Regions from separate parts of the Homo sapiens genome. Here region 1 is linked to region 2. The links are contacts of gene promoters, found by promoter capture Hi-C in human tissues and cell types (Jung and others, 2019). All regions are on one chromosome and are shown on one strand. The core of a region is centred on a gene start or on the middle of the fragment in contact, and the rest is flanking DNA. Distances in the headings are between cores, read along the strand shown. Region 1 overlaps AKAP6 (A-kinase anchoring protein 6). Region 2 holds the start of HECTD1 (HECT domain E3 ubiquitin protein ligase 1).

Region 1 (7,752 bases), core at 2,123-4,622, 1.3 Mb after region 2:
CAAATTCTGCTTCCACATCCTCACTTGAGCCTTGTAATCAGAGAAGTTGGAATGCCAAATTGCAATTGCAGTCAGAAACATCCAGTTCACCAGCTTTTACTCAGAGCAGTGAATCCTCTGTTGGCTCAGACAACATCATGTCTCCGGTGCCACTTCTTTCAAAACACAAAAGCAAAAAAGGTCAAGCCTCCTCTCCAAGTCACGTCACTAGGAATGGTGAGGTTGTGGAGGCCTGGTATGGCTCTGATGAATACCTAGCACTGCCCTCTCACCTTAAGCAGACAGAAGTATTGGCTTTGAAGTTGGAAAACCTAACAAAGCTTCTGCCTCAGAAACCCAGAGGAGAAACCATCCAGAATATTGATGACTGGGAACTGTCTGAAATGAATTCAGATTCTGAAATCTATCCAACCTATCATGTCAAAAAGAAGCATACAAGGCTAGGCAGGGTGTCTCCAAGCTCATCTAGTGACATAGCCTCTTCACTAGGGGAGAGCATTGAATCTGGGCCCCTGAGTGACATTCTTTCTGATGAGGAGTCCAGTATGCCTCTCGCTGGCATGAAAAAGTATGCTGATGAGAAGTCAGAAAGAGCTTCATCCTCTGAGAAAAATGAGAGCCATTCTGCCACTAAATCAGCTTTAATTCAGAAACTGATGCAAGATATTCAGCACCAAGACAACTATGAAGCCATATGGGAAAAAATAGAGGTAAGGTGGTTTTCTTAACATGAATGATTTCTCACTTGAGTTTTGGAAGTATTGCTGGGAGAAGGTCACACTCCTACACTCTATTATAAAATGTATGGCTATTTTTGATAAATCTGATTCTCCAAAGAAAGAAAAGAAAAAGCACAATGATCAATGCATGTGACAAAGAGTATGAATCACTAGGAATTGCCCTTGTCAGTGCATTAGCTTGATGTGCTCCTGCCTGGTATAGAATTCTTTGTTGAAATTGTTCAAATCTATCATGACTACTGATGAATGCTGGAACCCCTTGGATCTAATACAAAATTAAATAGAATGATAGCTGTGCACACACAAGTAGCTCAGGAATATATGCATAGACTATTCCAGTTACCCCAGAGTGTTTTTATTCATTTCTTCTGACTCCAGAATACATTCCACATCTCCAATGTTAACTTCTTGTAGAAATAGACCAGACATTTCTAATTTATTAGGGATCTTTTTTTTCTTTACTCTTCCTCCTCTTTGAGAACTCTGGCTAATAACCATATTACCTATACATGTACCACCCATGGACTCTGGGATGTGAAGTTGACATTTTGGCTAAATCTGTACTTTTGAACAAATTACTAGATATGACGTAATGTTTGAGGACAGACTTATCAAAAATCTCAGGACCGACGGCTTGGGCAATGTAGGGAGACCCCATCTCTATATTAGCCAGGAGCGGTGGCACACACCTGTGGTCCCAGCTACTCAGGAGGCTGAGGCAGGAGGATTGCTTGAGCTGAGGAGGTTGAGGCTGCAGTGAGTTGTGGTCATGCCACTGCACTCCAACCTGGGCAACAGAGTGAGACCCTGTCTCAAAAAAAAAAAAAAATCTCAGGACTGAGCTCCATAGTATAAGTAATTATTTGATCTTTTAAGAGGCATCTGGGCAAAGAGATTCACTATGATTACTGTGGTAATGGCCGTTTCCTCAGGAGGCCATTGGAAGTAGATCCAGCTGACTTGATAATTGTTAATGGTTTCTTGTTTGATGACATATCAATGGCCATGCTTGTCTACATATAATTTGTGTATGACTTTATGGTATGCAACGCTCTCCCACATGCTTTTTTTTTTTTTTTTTTTTTCCTCTGAGCAGAGTTTTGCTCCTGTTGCCCAGGCTGGAGTGGAATGGCACCATCTCAGCTCACTTCAACCTCCACCTCCCAGGTTCAAGAGATTACCCTGCCTCAGCCTCTCGTGTAGCTGGGATTATAGGCCCCCACAACCATGCCCAGCTAATTTTTGTATTTTTAGTAGAGACGGGGTTTCGCCATGTTGGCCAGGCTAGTCTCGAACTCCTGACCTCAGGTGATCCGCCTGCCTTGGCATCCCAAAGTGCTGGGATTACAGGCGTGAGCCACTGTGCGTGGCCCATACATTTTTTTTTTTTACTTGATCTTCACAGCTGTCCTGTGAAGGAAGCAGGCCATGCCAGATTATTCTCGCTTTACAGAGATGGAAACAGCCTCCATGAGCTTAAGTGATTTTTCTCAAGCTAAAATAGATAGATAGATAGATAGATAGATAGATAGATAGATAGATAGATAGATAGATAGATATAAAGAGATGGTAGGTAGCTAGATAGAGACAAACAGACAGACACAGATAGACAGACTGACAGACAGACAGGCAGAGACAGAGACAGACAAACCAGACAGACCTTTTGTGTAGGAAGCTGAGACGCAAACTCACGTCTTCTGATTCTTAGTCCAGTTTTCTTCTATAGTATCATGTTGCCTCCCTGAAAGGGGTTGTAGTTTCTCCTTCGCCGGGAAACTATAAGATAGGAGAGAAGAAAGAGTTCAGGACCCATTCAGACTGGATAGAGAATATTGATGTAACTGCCATGGGCACTCCTCCTAATTTTTTTTTGTTCTGTTTTTTGTTTTTTTTACATCCATTCGTTGTCGAATACTACTCTGAGACCAGCATTGTGCTAGACACTGGATAAAGGTATAGTGCATATGGATAGAATAACCTGGAGGAAGAAAATGCAGGTTTATAAACAAAGAGGAAAAAGTTATCAAATATACAGCAGTAATAACATATTAATCATCATTAACATATATCAAGTATTCGTGTATCTAGTCCTCACAACAACCCTGATATTAACCTTATTTTATGGCTGAGGAGACAGGCTGAGAGAGACCATGCAGTCTGCTCCAGAGCCCATATTATTAACTAAATGCCCTCATTCCTGTCCATGAGGAAGTGATCAATAAGTACCGAATATAAAAACTGTGGTATTGTAGAGTAGTAATAATATCAGTGGAGCTAGAATTTGACTGGGCAGTTCTTGTGAAGTACTAAACCTTAAGTGGAGCTTTGAAGGATGTACAGGATTCAGACAGATAAAGGAAAAGGAAGGTGGCGTTTCAGGTAGGAGGAGCATAAACTAAAACACAGAGGTAGAAATGAGAATGAGCATGGATATGGGGTACAAAGAGAGCTGTCCTGGTTGGAAGGTTTGTCATCAGAGATCAGTGAAAGTTTCCATACCTAAAGTAGGTATGGAAAGGCCATGAAGGCCACGCCAAGGCAATTAGAATTTGTTCACCAGGCACCCACAGCAACTTCTCTGAAAGGGACTGACAGTAATAACTAATACTTCTTAAGCTTTTATTTTGTGTTTGGCTCTGTACTAAGTATTTTACGTGGCTTACCCTACTTAAGTCCCGGAAGGGAGGATTTTTTCAGATGAAGAAACTAAGGCAGTATGTGATTAGGAAACTTGCTCAAGTCCTCACAGCTAGTAAGTACAAAGCCAGGATTTGAACCCATAACCAGCATTCTTAAAGCAGTGTAGGCCCTGGTCTCTAGTAGTCTTTCCAGAAGGGTTAATTGGCAATAACAGAAAGATGGTCCTGGCAGACATGGCGGTGACCAGGGCAGAGGTGTTGGCCTGTGGCAGCCAACCTGAGGAACTGCTGTGATGTGGATCAGGCAAGAGGAAGGGAGGGGAGTGTTGAAAAAGTGAATGAGTCCAGAAAACTGGTTCTAGACCTTGCTAGAAAGAATTCAGGAGCCATTCAGTGATTAAAGCCTGGTGTGGCCCACAGCTTGGCATATTCCATTCTGAGCCTTGTTTCATCTTTTGTAAAGAGATGTTTTAACCCGATGATGACTATGATACCAACTTCCAATTTGATTCCACAGTTCTACAAAAATGCAGCTAGGTTTTCAGCATCTGGAGACTGGTGTGTCTTTAATAGAAGGAAACATTTGGATGAGTAGCTGGTTTGAAGTAGAGGTGGTGCAGGTAATTTTTTAAAAACCGTGCATAGATAGCATATGATGAAACTTTTAAGAAGAAATGGTTTATAGGCAGTTGAAAAATCCCATACTGGAGTTGGGATATGAGGGAAGAGGCTAAAAGAAGATCAAGTTCCTTCCTCAGGCCAGCTGGAAATTGTTAATGGTTTGATTGTTAATGGTGGATAATTGTTAATGGTTTCTTGTTTGATGACATATAAATGGCCACGCTTGGCTACATATAATTTGTATATGACTTTATGATATGCAGCGCTCTCCCGCATGCTCTCCCTTACTACACCAGATGAGGGCAGCTGCCAACCTCCAGGTCAACTGGCCTTGGCTATCACACTCTAGCTTTGGTCTCCTCCTTATAGTGACCCAGAGAACCCATTCTGCCTGGAAAATATAATGACAGAGGATATTACTTAATATCTTCTTTATAGAAGGCATCTGCTAGGCATTTTACCTATAATAACTCTCCCATAAAATTCTTATAACAACCCTCTAAGGTAGGTTTTTAATCCTAAATTAACCACTAACCACTTCTCTCCTGTTCCATTCTGGTTCTAGCCCCCATCACCTCCTTCCTGGATTACTGCAGTAGCCTCCTAACTGGTCTCTCTGCTTCTATTCTTCTCTCACTACAGTCTATTTCCAATAGAGTAGCCAGAGTGATCCTTTTAAAAGATAAATCAGATTATGTCATCCCTCTGCTCCAAACTCCACAATAGAGGGTTGCCATTGTATTCAGAGGTCCTACATGGACTGTTCCCTGATTTCCTCTCTGACATCCTTTCCAATGACTTTTCCCCATGCTCACTACACTCCCTTTCCTAGAACATACTTGGCATGCTTCTTGCCTTTAGGATCATTGTCAGCTGCTTTTGTCTACATCCTCTCCAGCAGATGCCCTCATTTATAATTCCTTCACCTGTTCCAAGTCTCAGCTAAAATATTATCTTCTCAGAGAGGACTACTCTGACCATCTTTTAAAAGATGTAACCCAGCTGGGCGCCGTGGCTCATGCCTGTAATCCCAGCACTTTGGGAGGCTGAGGTGGGCAGATCACTTGAGGTCAGGAGTTTGAGACCAGCCTGGCCAACATGGTGAAACCCCATCTCTACTAAATAAACAAAAATTAGCCAGGTGTGATGGTGTGCACCTGTAATCCCAGCTATTTGGGAGGCTGAGGCAGGAGAATTGCTTGAACCCGGGAGGTGGAGGTTCAGTGAGCTTGGGAGCGTGCCATGGCACTCCAGCCTGGGCAACGGAGCAAGACTTGGTCTCAAAAAAAAAAAAAAAAAAAGGTGTAATCTGACCTTTTCTTTCTTTTACAGATCTCACCACATTCTGTAATTTTTGTTTGTTTGTTTGTTTGTTTGTTTGTTTGTTGAGATGGAGTCTTGCTCTGTCGCCCAGGCTGGAGTGCAGTGGCACGATCTCGGCTCACTGCAAGCTCCGCCTCCCAGGTTCACGCCATTCTCCTGCCTCTGCCTTCTGAGGTAGCTGGGACTACAGGTGCCTGCCACCACACCCGGCTAATTTTTTGTATTTTTTTTTTTTAGTAGAGATGGGGTTTCACCGTGAGAGCCAGGATGGTCTCTATCTCCTGACCTTGTGATCCGCCGGCCTCGGCCTCCCAAAGTGCTGGGATTATAGGCGTGAGCCACCACGCCCGGCCTACATTCTGTAATTTTATATAATTTTCTAATGTAGTATATTTATTATTTTTGGTCTGTCTCCCTCTGTTAGAATGGGAACTCTGTGAGGGCAGGAATATTTATCTGTTTAGTTTGTTAATGAATCTCATGTACCTAGAACAATGCCTGGTGTACAGTAATTGCTCGATAAAGACTACTGAATGACTGAATCCCCATTTTAGAACAGAGGAAACTGAGTTTAGAAAGATGAACGAACAATTTTTCCTATGCAGCACAGCTAATAAGTTACAGAGCCAGGCTTCAGGCCACCATCTGTTTTATTCCTCCCACAAGATAAAGACTTGGGAATAGATGAATTCCCTAAAAGAAGGAGACTAGATGGAGAAAAGCAGAGGGACTGATGTCTGAGATTCAAGTTGTAGCTCAGTTATGAGACAGGAACAAGGAAGAGATCCAGTTGTGGGGATCAGAAGGGACAGAAAGAATTCTTGGGTATTAAATACATGGAGAGAGAGAAAGAGATACTAAATAAAATGGACATTAGCTTTGTTCTTTGCAAAAGATAGATCAAGAATAATAAAGACTAAGGGGAAAAAACCCAACAACCTTTAGATTTGTTTGAAATAATTAATGAAGACCTTAGGAAAAAAACAGACTTAATGAAGGAGTGAAAGTAGATATAGGTGATTAAGAAGTAAAAAACAATCATTCCTAATATTTCCTGGAATTGTATTGAAAACACAATATGAGGCAAAGGGCAGTAGTTGAAAGTAAAGTCAAAAGTCTTTTTTAAAAAATTGAAGCTTATTTGAAGGCAGAAGTGGCAAGAGAGATTGAAGTAGCTAGAAAGACTATGTAAATGTGGACACACTGAGAAAGAAGGGAGGGTATGTGGAACTCATAGGGAGAATTATGGCCTGGTATCAAGAATGATAAAATACTGAAAAATATATCCTGCTTCTAATTCCACTTCTGTCAAATGGAAAGTGGAGTCCATTAACTCATCATGGCAGAGTCCTCCACTCTGTCTTCTCTGAGTCACACAGAGCAGAAGGCAGGAGGCACATAGAAGCCCAGTAACTGCAAGAGAGTGTGGGGCTGTGATAGAATCTCCAGTAGGTTCCTGTCAGTCCCCACCCCTCACATTTGTATCTTTCTTATAATAGACTAATTTTGTAAAACAAAAGATTCTTTTTTTCTTTTTCTTTTCTTTTTTCTTTTCTTTTTTTTTTTTTGAGATGGAGTCTTGCTCTGTCACCCAGGCTGGAGTGCAGTGGCACGGTCTCAGCTCACTGCACCTCCGCCTCCTGGGTCTCCTGGGTTCAAGCCATTCTCCTGCCTCAGCCTCCCCAGTAGCTGGGATTACAGGCACCCACCACCATGCCCAGCTAATTTTTGTATTTTTTTTAGTAGAAACGGGGTTTCATCACGTTGGCCAGACTGGTCTCGAACTTCTGACCTTGTGATCCACTTGCCTTGGCCTCCCGAAGTGCTGTGATTACAGGCGTGAGCCACCGCGCCTGGCCAAGATTTCTTTATTCTTTGGGAAAATTGATTTTTGGATAATATATTCACATGGTTTTAAATCATAGACATTTAAAAATACTCAGTAAATCCCCCTCTCATCCTTATCACTCCATCTTGAATTCTCACTTCACCATATGTGATCACTATTGTTTTTAGTACTTACATATTTTTTAAGAAGGCCTTTACATATATAAGCCAATGAAAACAAAAATTTTAAGGCAATATTTTTAAAACTGGGGAATCAGTTGTAACCATTCCCTTTCCACAAATAAAAACTCCTAGTAAACTCTGAGTTCCCAAGGGATGGTCTGTTCCCAATCTTTTTCTGAGGGTTGAGGGGATTTTGCTTAACTCTGGCTGATTTACCCAGAACCCATTGTGTGAATAAATTACTAGAGCATCTTAGGTCTGAGTGCTCAACACCTACGGGAACTTCTCAAGGCCTAAAATTCAAAGCCAGAAGCGAAGTCAAGTAATGGAAACAGACACATTTGTTCCGATACATTCAAGAAATAGAATAAAAGCAATAAGGAGATAAAAGGGAAGAATATATCTGGAACAGATGAAAT
Region 2 (6,682 bases), core at 1,591-4,090:
ATCTCAAACATTTTCTACTAATTACCTTAAAATAGCATTAAAATGAATAAAGAAACATCAGAGTTTTCAATTACTTATTACTGGAGTTCAAAACTGTAAATACAAATGTAAAATAAACAGTAAAAACGAAACACATGTTCAACACTCAGAAGAATGGTTATTCTGACTGGACAAGTTATGACTTATATAAGAGGGAAAAAAATGGCTGTAAGGTCTATCTAGTAAGAATTCTCTTTTATATTTTTGCATATATACTAAGTTATAACCTCCCAATAAAACTGTTTAAACTCCCCAAACTTCAAAATGTTTCTACTACTCCAAATTTTCTACTCTTCTGCTACACGGTTAAGATCCAATTTATACCTTCCCAAACTGAAATTTACAAACCAATAATCGGCTTTAACAAAAGTACTGTCATATGACAACATCAATGAAGAAATGGGCAGTTCAAAACATATGTTTATTATCATCTCTTATTCCATAAATCAATTTCATGGTACAGAAATAGATACCTTTAAGAAAATAAATATTTGTATTTTCCCCAGTTCATGACATATTTTGAAAATGAACCAACCAAGCTATGGGTTAAAATTAATATTCCTACTAATTCCCATTCATTCAACAAATATGTATTTGTGTCATCGTAATCATCAGTCCTAGAGTTTCTTCACCTACCAATTTTTATTTCTTGGAAAAGTGTAAACACAAAACTCTTCAGGAATATTTTTAAAGATACGTGTTAAAATTCACTAGAGAAATTTCTACACAAACTGAAGTCAGCAAATGGTTGAAAACAGATGTCACTACAGTAACCCAAAGGAACATGATGAAGGAATGTACTTACGTTTCAAAACAACGATCCACGTTGTCAGACATCAAAAGCAGCATGCATAGCTGTTCAAGGGCTATTAGTTGCATGTCCCTTTCATCTCCCTGTCCCATCTGTAGCCATTCCAGCAATGTATCTGGGTCCACATCTGCCATGGTTTTTTAAAAGTCTCTTTGCTTAAATTTGAAAAGTAAAGGGAGAAAAGTCCTTTAAATTCCGGGACTGAACAGCTTGGGCTTAAATTTTTCTTCCTTTACATCTGCTAGAACCAAATTTTCATAGTGTCCTCCTAGCAATTAAAAAAGACTCCTAAGTACGTTTGGACGTAAGAGTGCTTAATGCAGTTTTTCAACTTTCCTTATCCGCCAGGTTTAACGTACAGATATCATACCAAATGAAAACCAGTTTTGCACAAGAGTATATAAGCTGATTAGGTTGCTGCTTAACTAGAAACCAGAGCTGTCTGTGTCAAAGACAGTCAGTCAAGCTTCAGGTCCCACTACTGCTATCACTAAAGTCTATGCCAAAAGGCAAAGAACACCTAACTAAAGGTTCTGTTTTTTCCAGCAAACTTCATCCCCCTCCTTCTCTACCCAAAACTGATCTTCAGATAAGGGTTAGATTCAGTATTTTGAGGAAACTCTAAACACCTTGATCCAATCCCCCTCCAAATTGTTTCTCCTTCAAAATTACCTCCAATTTCACATATTCTGCTGACTTCTCAATTTACTTCTATTTTAAAGATATCCAAATACAAACGACAATTATATACAAGATTTATCTATGAATAAAGAGTTGGTTAGGAATTTTGGCAGTCTTGGCAACTATTCTTAAAAGTTAAAAAAATAAAAAAATTAAAAAAGGAAAGGCTAAAAGTAAATGCAATGGACCAGCAGGTTACGGATCCGAACGAATGTAGGCCAACCTAGGGCCCTCTTTCCCCAGCTTCACAAGATAGGGCAGTTGGTTAAAAAAACAAAAACAAAACCGAGAAGCAACCCCAACAGGTAAGTCATTACAAAAGCGCCCCGTAAGCGCCCTGACTGGAGGACAGCTTTGGGTCCCACGTAACGCAGCCGCAAGTGTGGGAAGCCGGCGGCGGGGCGCGGTGGGCACCCAACGGCGGCGACCAGCGGGGTTGACCCCACACCCGGGGCCCGGCCGAGCCGGGCGCTGAGAGGCGCTGGCCCCCGCGCTGTGGTTCCCCAGCACCAAACCCCGCTAAGTTAACTACCTGTGTCTACGAGGAAGGGAAGTTCTGGAGAAGCAGCAGCAAGCCTTCGTGCCCGAGAGGAGGCCGCCGGGCCAGGCAGGGCGCCGGCTCTCCCGGGAGCTGCGCCCGGAACTCGAAGGCCTGGCAGCGAACCCTTCTCAAGGGCAAAAGGAGCCGGCCTGAGGCTCTGGCGCGGGCAACCGGGCCCCGCCGCCGGCAGGGCCCCGGGAGGGGAACAAAGGGGCCAGCGGGGAAGTCGGCAGCAGCCTGGCCGACCTCACTCGGCGCCGGGGTCTCGCTTTCCGCCACTCGCCGGGCGTCCGGGATCCGCGCCCCCACGCAGGGCCCTTCCGACGGTCCGAGGCGCTCCCGCCTCCCCTTCCCGCAGGCTCTTACTCGGGCTTGTCGTTCCAAACCGCTCCGATCCAGCTCCCAACAGGCCGCCGGCAGAGCCAGGCCCGGCCGCGGCCCTAGAGTTCCCAAGAAGCCGCAGGCCGCGCAGGTCGAACCGGGCAGGCGGCACAGGAAAAGCCGCGCCTCGTCCCTCCCCTTCCTCCGCGAGGACCTGGTGACAGGGAAGCGAGAGGTTCTCGCGTGCGGCAGCAGCCAGCGGACGTCCAGTCCCCAGCACGCGGCTCCTCAGGCCCTGCAACTCAGAGGCCCGCGCGGTGCTGCGGGCGACGGCGGCGGCGGCGCGGCGGGGAGGCCCAGTCCATCGCGAACCGGGAGGGGGAGGGGAGGAGGGTCGAGGGAGAGCCAGGCGGGGAAGCTGCCGAGGGCAGCCGAGCCCGGCGGAGGCGGAGCAAATCCACTCCCCCGGCGGCGACCCCGCCGGCGGCCACCTGGGGCGCTGCGGGACGGCCGACCGCCGCGCAGGGGCGCCAAACCGGGTACGCCGCGTCGCCGTCCCTGCCCCGGAGCTCTCGCCCCCGCCGCCTCGGGCTGTGTCGTACGTTTCTGCCGCGGCTTTTCTATGGTGCGCCCTGGCCCCCTTTTCGCTTCCCTGTCAGTCCGAGCGCGCTCATGCACGCACGTCCAGCTTGCTTGGCGCCGTGGCTAACACTTTGCGCGCTCCTGCGGAGGGCGTCGCACGGCACAGCACAGCAAAGCTGCGGCCCAACCTGTCCCCGCTGAGCCTTCCGCCCAGGCCACCCGCACTCAGCCACGATCTTCCCTCCTCGCGCACGGAAGTGCGTCGCGTAAGGAAGGCGTCTCCCCCCGCTCCTGGGAGGCCGACCGCCTGGCGGTTCACCCCAAAGAAAACCCTTCAGAGCAACCCTGGGAAAGAGGTGCTGCCGACGATTATCAACGTTGTACAGATGAGACACTGAGGCTCCAGGAAAGCGCAAATGCAGGCCCAGCGCCGTGCCCGGTCGGCAGCAGCACTGAGAGTGCACTTTTGACTACGTTTCTTGTGGCTTGTGGTCACAAGTATGTCTGTGGTTATTCTTTTCAAACTTTATTTCACACGCATTCAGAATAAAGGATGCATGCTTATAGGACGTAGTTGGAGCCCGGAGACGTCCTACTGTACTCTCACTTTCAGCTTTTAAACAAAAAGAAAAATTAATACGACATGATAGTGTTTGAGACATGGTCCCTCAGGCAACCAGAGGAGCTGCTAGGTATGAGTAAAGAACAGAATTTGGGTCCGCTGCGTTTCCTGTAATCCCAGCACTTTATGATTTTACTCTCTTGAGGCCCGGAGTTCGAGACCAGCCTGAGCAACATAGACCTGGTCTCTGCAAAAAAATTAAAATTTAAAAAATAATTACCCAGATGCGGTGACGCACACCTATGGTCCCAGCTACTGGAGCGGTTGAGATGGGATGATCCCTCGAGCCCAAGAAATTGAGGCTGCAGTGAGCTTTGATAATGCCACCTCACTCCAGCCTGGGCGACTAAGCAAATTTGTCATTTCCAAAATACTGGTTCTTTTTTTTCTTTCTTTTTTACTACTTCTTTAGAAAAAGAACCAGTATTTTGGAAATGACAAATTTGTACTTCAGATAGCTATCCGCGCATGTCCCGTTGTCGCAGGTAATGGTCCGTTTAGGTATCCTGTTAACGAAACAAGAGGAAAAAGAGGATTCAACTATTTTGTCCCAAGTACAACACATGAGGATAATTATTTAGATGTCATGAGTGTGAATTGGAGCTGCCAGGAAACTTCAAGAAGGAAGTGGCATTCCCTCTGGACCTTGAAGAATGGGTACAATGTAGACACTGAAAGGAAAGGGAAGAACATAAAGCCTGATATGTTCCTAGACATAGGAAAGGTCACCTGTGCCCCCAGCAAAGAACCAACAGTAAGCAACAGAGAGAGAAATTTGGAGCTAAAGTGGGGAAGGCCTTGAATGAGGAATGCAGAAATTAGGCTGAGCTAAGTAGCAAGTTCTGGACTACAACACTGGAAAAACTAGTCTTAAGAAGACTAATTATGGAAAGTGTCTAGAACGACTAAAAGGATCTATCTAGACGAGACTAGCTGGAGGTTGTCGAAATGCTGCAATAATGGAGGAAAGAAAAGTCTAGTTATTGGCAATATGAATGGGGAAGAAATCTAAAAATAATTTTTGAAAGAAGATATATCAGAATTTAAATGATTAACTTAAAAATTTCCGTCCAGGCTCCATGGCTCACACCCGTAATCCCAGCACTTTGGGAGGCAGAGGCAGGGGGATCACTTGAGCCCAGGAGTAGGAGACCAGCCTAGGCAACATAGGGAGACCCTGTCTCTACAAATAATTTTTAAAATTAGCTGGGTGTGGTGGTGCACACCTGTAGTCCCAGCTACTCAGGAGTCAAAGGCAGGAGGATCACCTGAGCCCTCGAGGTCGAAGCTGCAGTGAGCCATGATCATGCCACTGCACTACAGCCTGGGCAATAGAGCAAGACCCTGCCAAAACAAAAAACAAAAACCCTTAACGTAGAAAGAGGACTTGGAAGCTAGGAAAATGGTGATGCTATTAACAAAAAATAGAAAAGTTAGAAAAAGGGATTATACCTTTACCAAGTTTTTTGTTGTTTTTTTTTTTTTTTTTTTGAGACGGAGTCTCGTTCTGTTGCCCAGGCTGGAGTGCAGTGGCATAATCTCGGCTCACTGCAAGCTCTGCATCCCGGGTTCATGCCATTCTGCTGCCTCAGCCTCCCGAGTAGCTGGGACTACAGGTACTGGCACCCACCACCACGCCTGGCTAATTTTTTGTATTTTTTAGTGGAGATGGGGTTTCACCATGTTAGCCAGGATGGTCTCGATCTCCTGACCTTGTGATCCGTCCGCCTTGGCCTCCCAAAGTGCTGGGATTACAGGCATGAGCCACTGCGCCTGGCCACCTTTACCAAGTTTTTAAGATATATATTTTTTTATCCTGCACTATCTCTACATGTACCACCCACCCACTTCCTGCCCGCAAGATTAATGTCTAGTGTGCTTTAAAGAAACCTTATCAAAAGAATGCTGTGACACTTATTGCACTTTTTAAAGATGTTATTATCATATTTATTTTGATTTTTATTTAGAGGCAGGGTCTTGCTCTGTGGCTCAGGCTGGAGTGCAGCAGTGTGATCCTAAATGACTGCAGCTTCCAACTCGTGGGCTCAAGGCGATTCTCCTGCCTCAGCCTCCGGAGTAGCTGGGACTACAGGCCCATGCCACTACACCCAGCTATTTTTATTTTTTTGTAGAGACAGGATCTAACTATGTTGCCCAGGCTGGTCTCCAACTCCTGGGCTCAAGCAATGCTCCAGCCTTGGCCGCCAGAAGTGCTGGGATTATAGGAATGAGCCACATGCCCGGCCCATGTTATTATTTTAAACTCAAACAGAAAAAAAGAATTCAAGCATGAGATCCCAGAACAAGAGCATTAAAGGAGAGAAATGAAGTCATGAAGACAACAAAATATCCGGATAAAGGCAACTGACCAGACTTGAATACTTATCCCAAGAAACCAGGAACTGTTTACATGTTGGTATTTCCCATTGCTTCCAAAATCCAAGAATCATAGACCATCGAGAACTGCTCTGTGCCAGGCTCAGTGTAAGGCTCAGTAGTCACAGACCTCTTCCTCAATAAAGGTAGATGTAAACACACTCCTCTGAGTCTCCTCTATCATACCGCTTATTAGGTGATATTGTCAGGTACATGCTGGGAACATTAAGGAGGTAGGAGATGGCATCTTGGAAAGCTTCAGGAATGAAGTGTGAATTAAATCTCAGATAATGAGTCACAGCTGGCCAGATAATTAGGAAAAGCATATGGACAGGCACAGAGGTACGAAGAGGGTCCCTCTTGGCAGAATGAAGCAACAGGCTGCCTTTTGACTGAGGCTCCACATTGGCGAAGGAACTTCGATGTGTACACAGTCGCTGGGATCAACTCACAGGACTATTAATAAAAAGGAAGATATTCATCATACAAATCTAAACTCATTTCATCAACTGGTATGTACTATGAATTAATTTTCTTTTCTTTCCTTTTTTTTTTTTTTTTTTTTTGTGACGGAGTTTCACTCTTGTTGCCCAGGCTGGAGTGCAATGGTGCGATCTTGGCTCACCGCAACCTCCGCCTCCTGGGTTCAAGTGATTCTCCTGCCTCAGCCTCCCGAGTAGCTGAGATTACAGGCATGCACCACCATGCC

The links. Contacts are between HindIII fragments. The study calls those that stand out against the background at their distance.
Region 1: a contact is called between a fragment that was not itself captured here and the fragment with the promoter of HECTD1 in region 2, in 1 of the 25 tissues and cell types used here (dorsolateral prefrontal cortex).

Annotation. Positions count from the first base shown.
Region 1 is chr14:32,546,290-32,554,041 of GRCh38, forward strand. It overlaps AKAP6 (A-kinase anchoring protein 6), which reads left to right. Exons shown (of 14, transcript NM_004274.5): 4 at 1-710. Among named protein-coding and RNA genes, the nearest start is that of AKAP6, 220 kb to the left of the region's middle. The HindIII fragment of the contact is 3,069 bases long and covers 1,839-4,907 here.
Region 2 is chr14:31,204,953-31,211,634 of GRCh38, forward strand. HECTD1 (HECT domain E3 ubiquitin protein ligase 1) reads right to left here and starts at 2,841. Exons shown (of 43, transcript NM_015382.4): 1 at 2,064-2,841; 2 at 845-1,005. The coding sequence starts at 984. RefSeq lists enhancers at 1,733-2,246, 2,759-3,270, 3,248-3,417, 3,271-3,782 and silencers at 1,888-2,097, 2,218-2,427, 2,728-3,067. The HindIII fragment of the contact is 13,658 bases long and covers 1-6,682 here.